Regions from separate parts of the Homo sapiens genome. Here region 1 is linked to region 2. Evidence: promoter capture Hi-C in 16 types of primary human blood cells and fetal thymus (Javierre and others, 2016). All regions are on one chromosome and are shown on one strand. Each heading gives the region's core, a stretch centred on a gene start or on the middle of the fragment in contact. The rest is flanking DNA. Distances are from core to core; before and after follow the strand shown.

Evidence for each region. Contacts are between HindIII fragments. The CHiCAGO score rates a contact against its expected background, and 5 or more counts as called.
Region 1: a contact is called between a fragment that was not itself captured here and the fragment with the promoter of KCNJ12 in region 2, in 1 of 17 cell types (megakaryocytes). The highest score is 6.3, in megakaryocytes.

The regions. Positions count from the first base shown.
Region 1 is chr17:21,317,511-21,323,208 of GRCh38, forward strand. No RefSeq gene overlaps it. Among named protein-coding and RNA genes, the nearest start is that of MAP2K3, 36 kb to the left of the region's middle. RefSeq lists enhancers at 1-12, 350-1,026, 1,027-1,703, 5,221-5,698, 5,348-5,397 and 2 more. The HindIII fragment of the contact is 1,115 bases long and covers 2,921-4,035 here.
Region 2 is chr17:21,372,581-21,377,666 of GRCh38, forward strand. KCNJ12 (potassium inwardly rectifying channel subfamily J member 12) reads left to right here and starts at 3,777. Exons shown (of 3, transcript NM_021012.5): 1 at 3,777-4,333. RefSeq lists enhancers at 1-28, 29-764, 765-1,500. The HindIII fragment of the contact is 5,395 bases long and covers 3,327-5,086 here.

The DNA.
Region 1 (5,698 bases), core at 2,228-4,727, 55 kb before region 2:
CGCCTGTAATCCCAGCACTTTGGGAGGCTGAGGTAGGTGGATCACCTGAGGTCGGGAGTTCGAGACCAGCCTGGCCAAGATGGTGAAACTGCGTCTCTACTTAAAAAAATACAAAAATTAGACGGGCATGGTGGCGCACATCTGTAATCCAAGCTATCTGGGAGGCTGAGGCAAGAGAATCGCTTGAACCTGGGAGGCAGAGGTTGCAGTGAGCTGAGATCGAGGTGCTACACTCCAGCCTGGGGGGCAGAGTAACACTCCGTCTCAAAAAAAAAAAAAAAAAGAAAAAAGAAAAAAATGCAGCAGACAGGCCTGCTCAGGAGCAGGGAGGCTGCGGAGGGAGGATTTGGCGAATTCCCTTCTAGAGGCCAGGGCGTGAAGCCTCTCCTCCAGATCCCTGCTGCAGCTACCGTCTTCGGTGGGGGCCTCCTCATGGTCCACAGTGCCCCACCCCGGGCGCCCACCCCTGCCTCCCCTGTACCCTGTGCCTGGCTCCCTGCGCTTCACCCCGAGCCTGGCGGTGCAGGGCCTCTGCAGGAGCTGTCTTGTTCTCCTCCCGGAACGCTCTTCCCCGGATGTGCTCCCGCTTTGGGGTCTGCTCAGATGCCTCCCTGACCACACTTGTCCTGCCGCACTTTCTTCACATTTATTCATTTTCATTCTTGCCCACTGGCCGCCTCCCCCGCAAGACCAGGAGGAGCCGGCCTTGCTCACAGGAGACAGGGCAGGTGCAGGAAGGCTGCCGCAAGGCCCAGCGCAGGCAGCAGGCAGCAGGGCTGTGCGGGAGGTGGTCTGGGGACAGTGCTGCCATTCCGTTTATTCCGGGGGTCTGCTCTGGGAAGGCTTTCCAGGAGCGAGCCGATACTGAGCCGATAGGCGCGTTGTGCTGGCTGAGGACTCTGCACCTCAGAGAAGGGAAGCCAGGAGCTCCAAGTCAAACAGCAGGCAGCACCCGTGCCGGGGGTTAGCGTCCCGGCTGCGCTCCCGCTCCCATGCCCTCCCTCGGGGCCGAGCTCTGCTTCTGAGGGCGGAGCCCAAGGAGGCCCGTGCTGCCCACCTGGCGGCTCAGGCTCCAGCAGCCCCGAAACTGTGGTCAAGTCCCTCTTCCCCCAGGGAATCGGCAGGGGCCGGAAGGATTGAATATGTCCCCCAAGCTGCTGTGTTGGGAGGTGGGGCCTCACAGCAGGATTAGATCCTGGGGGCCTGCCCTCCTGAATGGATGAATGCTGCCAGCCATCTCCCAGTGGGTTAGTTACCGAGGGGGTTGGTTGTAATAAAAGGGCGTTTTGCCCTCCCCTGCTGCCTCCAGCACTCTCTTGCCTTTCGGCCTTCCTTCAGCCATGGGAGGACACAGCAGGGAGGCCTTGTCAGATGCCGGCCTGGATCTTGATTTCCCAGCCTCCAGAACCCTGAGAAATTTCTGTTGTTTAGAAAGTACCCAGTCTGGGCTGGGCACATGGCTCACACTTGTAATCCTAGCACTTTGGGAGGCCAAGGCGGGCGGATCGCTTGAGGCCAGGAGCTCACGACCAGCTGGGGCAACATAGCAACACCTCATCTGTACAAAAAAGCCAGGTGTGGTGGTGCATGTCTGTAGTCCCAGCTACTCCAGGAGCTGAAGTGGGAGGATTGCCTGAGCCCAGGAGTTCGAGGCTGCAATGAGCGGTGATTGCCACTGCACTCCAGCCTGGGTGACAGATTGAGACCCTGTCTCAATTTAAGAAAAGAATGAAGAAGAAATCATCCAGTTTGTGGTATTTTGTTATAGCAACAATGAAACAGATGAATACAGGCCCCCAACACCAGCATTATCTCATCCTGGTTTCCCTGTGGGCAGGGGCTGTGGTGGGCAGGCAGGACCAGTCACCTCATCTTCCAACAGGGGCTTCGCATCTGACCACACCTCTCCCTGATGCACCAATCCTCTCAACCACACCCCCACCAAGGCCTGCTGGCCTCTGCTTGCATACCTGCCCTGATGGGGAGCTCACTCCCATACAGACGCGATTCCTGGAGGGATCTGGGTTCCATCTTCTTTTCCCTGTTCTAGTTCCCCAGGCCTGTGACGTGAGGGGCCCATGTGTAAACCCTGGCTCACTCTCAATGCTCATTTCTTTGCCTCTTGTGAAAGCTGTTGCAAATCCTTTTGGAAACCAGGTGGGAGGGTCTATATATACACTGGCTGTACTATGTTTATCAGAGCTTGTGTATCTTCACGCCCAGGGCAGCCGGCTTCTCCTGGAGGTTACAGAGGCTCAGCGAGGCTCTGACCCCTCCTGAGGCCACCAGAGAGTGAGGCAGAGCCAGGGAAGCCCAGAAACCCAGGCGTCCTGCCCCTAGTCCCTACCCCCAGCTGAGGCTCTGCCCAGCCCCAGTGAGCCACCTGCCAAGCCAGGTTTAGCTGCAGCCACCCCCTCTGTCCTCGCAGAAGCCGTGGGCTGCTCTATTCCTGTTCTGGGCCAGCCTTATTGGGGACTTGAGTTGGGGAGGCCTGGCGAGGCAGCAGCAGCTGCAAGCTCTGGTTGGGGATGGGGGAGTTGCTCTGTGAACTAGCCTAGGAAATTCTTTCCTTGTCTGCCTCCCAAACCCTCCATGGCTCCCTATTCCCACAACATCCAAGGAAAAGGAGGCACAGCATGAACTTGACAGCAGGGCCTTATCTGGGTTGTTCTCCACAGGGTTTGGCCCATGGCACGTGTTATCTGAGCACCTTCTATGTGCCACGTTGTGTTCTAGAACCAGAGCTGTACCAGGGCTCAGACAGACCTGGACCTGCTCAGCCAGGGTGTCAGGCAGGGAGGAGGCACCCACCTTCGCGGAAAGCTGTGCTCCCCCCATTCTTCCAGCATCACCCCATGATCACTCCCTAAGGAGAAGCAGTGAACTCTAAGTTAATTAGCAAAGTCATTTAAACTAGTTAAGCTTAATTACCATTAAATGATTACATTTAATTAATTAATTTTTTTACATTTGAATTTAAAAGCCCCTGGGGCAGGCAGGGATTTTCTGCCACCCAAGAGACCAAGGGGTTGAAGGACAGATGGCACGGGCCCTGCAGGCCATGGCAGAGAGGCTGAACTTCATATTCAGGGCAAAAGTCACTGGAGGGCTGTGAGCCGGGGAGAGATGTCATCTGATTGCATTAAGAACAACAGCAGCGCAAGATCACACCTGTTTGCCCTCAGAGCCCTACTCCGTGCCTCTTCAGCCCCCACTGTCCCCAGCCCTTGGGTCAGACAACCTTGAATTTGACACTTTCACCCCAGGTTGTATGACCTTGAAGATGTCACTGCACCTCTCAGAGACTCAGTTTCCTCATCTGCAAATTGGGGCAGGATCTGGCAGGATTGCAGGTGGTTTCAACAGAACCCTGCAGCATGGAACAGGCTGGCACACAGTAGGTACTCCATGAATAATGCTGTCCCCCTGGTCCCTGCCTCCACTGCCTCCTCTTGGGCCAAACCCAAGTTTATTCTGCTTCCTATAGTTGCCTTCAACTACAATCTGTCCCCGTGGGGTCCCTCAGGATGCACATCCATGGCAGAGCTGGGCTTGCCCTTAAACCTTGGGCTAGGAGGCTGGAGGCATCTGTCCTGGGACTCTGAGATTTCACAGGCTGTGCTTGTAAGTGGGCACAGACCTGCCGTCTTGGAGTCCTGGAGCCCTGATTGGAGCTAGGGCAGAGCCTGGCCAGGTACCCAGACCCCCTCCTGGGGCCCACTTGGTCCCTTCTGTCTGTGGATGACTTTCAGCGAGTCACCACGTCCCTCACGGTTTGGTTGCTGTGAAGTGGAGCGGAGGGGTCAAGGTTGCTTGCGTGAGTGCAAAGCCAGCCAGCTGAGGCTGGTGTTCCTCAGGAGCATCCATCCAGCCGAGAGAGGAGACTTGGAAGTGTATATCCTGCGCCATCTCCAAGGGATGGAGCTCCAGTTGCACCCAGCGGTAGCTCTGTTGATGACATGGCCTTGGTTGGCTCTTCCCTGTCTCACTTCTCCACTTCCCTATGGGTATTTCCTAGGATTTACTTGAGTCCAAAGCTTCTCAGTGTCTGAGAGTGTACTGGGAGAACCCAAGGAGACAGCGCCTCTGAGAATCATGGTGGGGAGAACAGGACCTGATGACGAAGTGCTCGGCAAATGACGCCTGATGTTACAGGGATCCTTGCTGACCCACTGGACCACGCCCTCCACACCAGCGCTGGTGGTTCCCCACAGTCTGAGGTCTACTTCCCCCAGCTTCTCTCGCACCTTTAGACTTCTCTGTGGCACTGCTTTCTCCTCTCCTCACCATCTCAGCTCCTCCCTCCTGTTAGCTGTGTGGCCCTGGGCAAGTCACTGCCCCTCTCTGATTCTCCACGTTCTCAGTCCCGTGGCGGGGACCTGACACCCTCTCTGGGCAAATGCCAGCATGCTTTGCTAAGCAGTCCTATCCCAGGTCTTGTGGTGTCTGCCAGAAATCTCCGGGAGGCAGAGGATGAAGGCCTGGGCGTTAGTGTGCCTGGTTGGAGGTCCTGGGGACGAAGGCTGCTGGGGTGGGGGTATTGCACTCCTGGTTGAAGGTCCTGGGGAAGTGTTTGTGGGGCTGTCACTCATTCATCTTGTTAGGCCAAGGTGTGAGGAGGTGGGCCGAGGTGGGTGGGGGAGGTTGACGTTGTGGAAATCACTGAGGGCCTGGAAAGCTGCTGCGAAGAGTCCGGGACTCCTGGGCATAGAGTAATGTTGGTGCCTTGACCAGAGCCTACAGACCTCCTTACTGGGACAAGCCAGCTCCCCGCCTGCTCTGTGCTGTGCTGCTAACCCTTGCATCTCAAACCTGCTTCAGGGAAGTATGCAGCAGAAAAGCCTAGCCCCTTGCCTTAAGGCAGGACAAACTCAGAGGCATAATTTGTGCTGCAGAGCTCCCTTGGGCTCAGGCCACGGCAGGGATGGAAATTGAAGAAACCCTTGCTTGTCTTCTCCTTCTTTTTCCCTGGCTCCCTCGCTGGTTTCAGCTGGAAGAAACTCCCTAGGGAAACATTTGCACCTGAATCCTGCTCTCAGGCTCGGCTTCTGGGAGAACCTGACATGAGACAACCTGCTGGCCCTGGGCACCACAGGCGTGTTTTAATAGAATGAGTTTATTGGTTAGAATGCAGGCTCGGTTACTTATTAAAAAACAAAACCGGCCGGGCGCAGTGTTTCATGCCTGTAATCCCAGCACTTTGGGAGGCTGAGGTGAGCGGATCACTTGAGGTCAGGAGTTCGAGACCAGCCTGGCCAACATGACGAAACCCCGTCTCTACTAAAAAATGCAAAAATTAGCCAAGCGTGGTGGCCGGCGCCTGTAATCCCAGCTACTCGGGAGGCTGAGGCAGGGAGAACTGCTTGAACCCGGAGGCGGAGGTTGCAGTGAGCCCAGATCGCGCCACTGCACTCCAGCCTGGGCGACCCAGCAAGACTCCGTCTCGAAAAACACACAAACAAACAAACAAACACCAAAACCCAAGTTAATGATGGTTTAAACAAGGTAGACGATTATTCGCTCCTGTAGCAGTCAGTGGTTCACGGTGGCGACGGCGGACTGAGTTCTATCCCTTTTCTGCCCTGCCGGGTGTGGGTTCATCCACTTCCTCGCGCCGCTCGCACCCCATTGGCAGTATTGGGTCACATGGCCAGCCGTGGCCGCAAAGGACGTTGGGAAATGTAGTCTTCATAAGGGA
Region 2 (5,086 bases), core at 2,527-5,026:
ACTCACTGCATGCCCTCAGCATGTGAGGTCCTGGGCTGCAGACACGCCTGAAGGACATGCTTCTGCCCTCATGGAGGTGCCATGCTGGTGGGGGGACCACAGTGAGCCAGACACCTCAGAGAGTGGCCAGCTAGGGAAGAAAGCAAGCTGAGCACAGCAGGTGCGTCCTGGTGGTCGGCAGGCCCCTCACGGATGTGCCGTCACAGCTACCCTTGCACGTGAGGCAGTTCAGAGAGACAGCGTTCCTGACTGAGGGGGAGGCAGGCCCCAAGGTCCAGTGACAGAATCAGGCTACTGGTGCCCAAGGGCCTGAATGGCCAGTGTGTTCAGAAAAGAGTGGCTGAGAGGGGGAGGGTGTCTGGGGCCTCAGGGACTTTGGCTATCACTCCTAGAAAGGTTAAACTGGGCATGCTGAGAGCTCATTTTACATTTTGATGGTGGGAAGACGTGAGGGCCAAAGCCGGGCCAAGGTCTAGGGTGGGCAGGGGAAGTCTCAGTGGGCTCTTGGGAGGAGGCATCTTGGAGGGGAGGAGATGCTGGGACTCTGGGGAGCACTGGTTGCAGCTGCCTGCAGGGCGAGCAAAGCCGCTGGGGAAGGGCCGTCTGGTTTCACATCTCACTCGGTGATGGACTTATGCCTCCCACAAGCGCATCGGCATTGTGGCATCAAGATGTGATTACCACAAGAGCTGGCAGCTGCTGTCGAGAGGCTGCAGCTCTGGGGCTCCTACACACAGGGCAGCGAAACCAGCCTTCGGGACACCTGCCCTGGACAGCTCAGTGGTCATCGTAGCAACCTTCCCTCTCTGGGCCTTGCTTTCCTCAAAACAAAGCCATGATTCCAAATGAGCCGAGGAGCTCTTCTGTCTCCTGGGCCTGTGGCTCCAGGGACACTCAGATATGCAAAGGCGTCTTGAACAGCCAACACGCCCACCCAAAGCTGGGAGAGACTGGGCTGCAAACAAGCCTCAGTCTCACCCCTGTCTTGGAGAAGCTCCCATCCTGGAGGGGAAGAAAGAATCTGGGATCAAGGGAAAGCCAGGTGCAGGGCACAAAATTCAGGGTGTTGGGAAGGTGTGTGCGTGGTGGGACAGCTGACTGCTGTTCATCTCCCTGGCTTCTCCCATGGCTGTGCCAGGAAAGTTACTACTCTCATGGCCTCGGCTGTCACGATCACCCCCATTTTACAGAGAGGGAAGTGGGGCCTTAGCAGGGGACGTGTCCCAGGTCTCCTGCTGGGCAGCGTTGGTACTGGGCTCAGTCCATTTGGCCTCACCCAGCCACTCTCGACACTGCCCCCTCCACACTGTAGGGGCAGGATGTCCTCTGCTCAGGCTTCACGCAGCACCCCGGGAGGGCCGTGAGCCCCTCTGCCCACGTGGGGATCCCTGGGGCAGATGTGTGAGCTGCTTAGGGAGAGATCTGCCCACATCCCTGCCTCTTTGTGTCCCAGCCCCTCCTGGAGGGAGGCTGGTGCCCAGTGGCGTGGCAGAGGGGATTTGCTTTGAGGGGCCCTTAATGGCTGCTCATGGGTTGCAATTACAATTAAGAATTGAACTCTGACCCTGCACGTGGGTTGGGAGGGTGGGACGTGGAGCCCAAGGGAGTGGCCCAGGGAGTCAGGCTTGCGTCTCTGCTGGGTGACCTTGGGCAAGACGCTTGCCCTCTTTGTGAAATGGGTCTGATAATGGCTCTGGGAGTGGGGATAGGGAGGGGCGGAGACCTGGCCTGACTCACAGTAGTCATCTTGGGTGTCGAGCCCCTGGGCAGGGGCCCTGTGTGTGTGTGTGTGGGAAGGGGGGGGTGGTGTTCCAGGCGTGAGGATGCCCTGGGCACAGCCACTTGTCCCAGGAGCTGTCAGAATCTTAGACCCAGAGGAGCCCTGAGGTGTTCCCGTCCATTCCCTTGCCCCTTTCTAGGCCACCAGAGTAAGGCCTCGAGGGAGGGATGTCTCAGGCCCCATTCCTCTTGGGACAGCTGAGTGGTCTCTGAGGGTGGGAGCTGGTTTGAGGCTTCTTCCGCAGCTGGCTTGGGCTTCCCCATCTGGGAAATGGAGCAGGGGCAGGTGGGGAGCTGAGTCATTTCCCTCCTTGGTCACTCGGAGGGAGAAGAAGGAAGTTTCCTGAGAGCTTTTGGTCCCCTGGGAGGCTGTTTCTCCCAGGAGGAGGAGGAAACCAGGACACAGTGTGCCAGGCAGGGCAGGGTGGGGGCTGCAGACTTCTGCGATGCCCCTTCTTTCTCCACTGCAGCCCTAAGTTGAGGACACACCTGATTCTGCGTACTGGCTCCACCATCTGGTAGTTCTGTAATTAAGCAAGTGACCACCCCTCTGTGCCTCAGTTCCTTCATCTGTAAAATGGAGCCAATGAGCTTATCCACCACAGATGGCCGCAGTGGTAATGAAATAATTCTAGCTGGGTCCATAGCACAGAGCTCAGAACATATTGAGTGCTCCGCCTGGCTGTTTTACCAGCCAAGTCAAGTGCTAAGCACTTTAGGTAGACTCATCTCATTTAATCCTTGCTACAGCCCCATGAGTGTAGTGATTTCTACTGACAACAGGGAAACAGAGGCACTGAGTGGTGAAGTGACCTGTCCCACAGCTAGTCAGTTGAGGTGGGATTCAAACCCAGGGCAGACTGATGTCGGTGAGTGCTGGGCTGGATTTCACCCACCAGCTGCCTGGGGCCAGGATCCTAGGGCTGGTGGGGCCTGCAGATCACTCTGCTCTGAGCCGCCAGCAATCTGGGTGCGGGCCAGAGAGCCGTCCTCCTCGGTTAGAATCCTGCAGCCAGTCTCCCTGCTGTGCAGACACATAATTATATTTCACATTAAAGGGGAAGCTGGAGGCCAAGGGGGCCAAGGAGCCCTTTGAGGCTCATGCTCTGGGCACAGACTGGCCTCCTCGGCCCAATTCTGAGGCCCTAGGGCCGAGCTGGGGGTCAGACTGGTGACAAAATGGAGTTCCCCTGGGTCAGTGTCCAGGCGAGCAGGTCTGTCTGCCAGGATGAAAGACTTGGCCCCTGCGGGAGGCTCAGAGATATGAGGCCCAGACAATAGGCCTCAGAAAGCTGGGAGGGCAGGGCATTTGGGGACAGGTTGGGAAGAAAGCCTGAGCCTCCAGAGACAGGGGCTCGAAAGAGAAGGGGGTCACATGGGGATCCGGTCGGCAGAGAGAGGTCCAGGGAGGAGCACAGAGAAGGCAGGAGATGGGAGAAGCCAAGCAGCTCAAGATGGAGAGGAGAAAAATGCTATTAGGGTGGGATGGTGTGTGTAGAGGGTGCGTGCCTGGTGTGCAGGGGAAAAGGGCTCTGTGGGAATGCACAAGCTTAGACCTGTGTGTGCGTATGCACACGTGCAGATGCCATCCTGCATGTGCACATATGAGCGAGTGTGCACATGTGCCCCTGCGAACATCATGCATGTGGGGGCATGTATCCTGCATGTTTATGCCTGTGTGTGTGCTCGCCATGCACCTGTGCGTGCGCGCGTGTCCCCGGCGGACGTGCCTGCATGTGTGTGTATGTGTGTGTGCGCGCATGTCCCCGGGAAGTCGTGCCTGTGTGTGTGTGTGTGTGTGTGTGTGTGTGTGTGTATATATATATGTGTGTGTGCGCGCGCGCGTCCCAGTGCGCAAGTGGCTGGCGGTGTGTGTGTAGGGGGCGGCCCGGGACTAGGAGGGGCTCGGGGCCAGGCCGGAGCCGTGGTAGGCTGGTGCAGCGGCTGCGCGGCGCGGCGCGGCGCGGGGCGGGCGTGCTCTCCGCGGAGAGTTAGAGGAGTTGCCGAGCTGAGCTCCGGTGGAGCGAGGCGCGGAGCTGGGTGCGCGCCGAGCCTCTGCCTCCCGCCGCCTCCTCGCCCTCCATTCCTCGCTCCCCGTCTTCTCCCGGCCACACCGCCACTGCTGCCGCCTCCCTGGGAACAGTAGCCGGGGGAGGGGGACTGGCGCGGTCAGAGCCTGCGAGGAGGTGCGGGGCGCCGGGGCGTAGGGGAGCGCGCCGGGCCCTGCCCGAGATCAGATAACAGCCGGCGGGGGAGGGGGTGGGCCGGCCGTGCTCACAGCCGGACCGAGGGACCGACGCCAGCCGCCCCGGCCCAAGCGAGCGCCCAGCGGCCGGGGGCGCCGTCCAGGCGCGCGCCCCCGACCCGTGGCTGGACCAGGGCGATCCGCTTTGCAGAGAAGACGCGCCCCTCGGCATGGAGCGCCCCCGGGAGCTGCCCTGAGGCGGTGGCGGCAGCGGCGGCGATGCAGCCAGCGCGGCAGCTGCCGGGGCCAGGAACGGCCGCCCGGAGCTTGGAGGACGCCGAGCGCGCCGCGCCCGGGCCACTGACCGAGGTAAGTGCGCGGCCGCGGGCGCATGGTCCCTCCCGGGCCCGGCCCCAGTTCCCCGCAGGCCGCGCCTCGCCACTAGCCCGGCCCGGAGCTAGCACGAGGTTGTGCAGCAACAGGGAAGGTGGAGCGGGAGGGTGTTTTCTTCCTCTCGTTTTATTTTTTTCCCTCCCTTGGTGAGACATCGGAGGAAATGCTGACTGCGAGCTTTTCTTTTCCTGCCATGTCTCCGGCTACCACCACAAGGAACTTTGCTCCTGGCTAACCTTCGTCCTGGGGGGCGCTCCGGGAAACTTTGAGGAGCCCTCGGCCCCCCTCTGACTGGTTTGCACTAGGGGGCTCGGGAGGGAGCGTGCGGAAGCACTCTGGCGCGCGGCACGGGTCCTACGCGTGACCTTCCCGGAGACCCCGCGATCGAGGTGGGGTTCGGAGGTGGGCGCCCGGGCTATATGAGCCGCCCCGAGAATGCCTCCCGTCAGAGACCTGCGGGTTCTTGGAGTCGTGTCTCTTTCTCACCTCCCGTGCTGTAATGGAGTAAAAATATTCTGGAAATGATTCCATGCCAGCAAGTCAGCCAAGTCCAGAGGCTCCCTTTTGCTTTTAGAAGTCGGCCTTGATCTCCGAGGGGATGGCCGCTGGCTGAGAAGCTCCCAGGGTTTCAGGGCCAGGGTCCACCCTGCGCGCGCACGGCCTCTCCGGGTGCCCTGGGGGAGCGGGGCGGGAATCAGGGGCTCATGGGCAGAGACAGCTGGGGTGGGG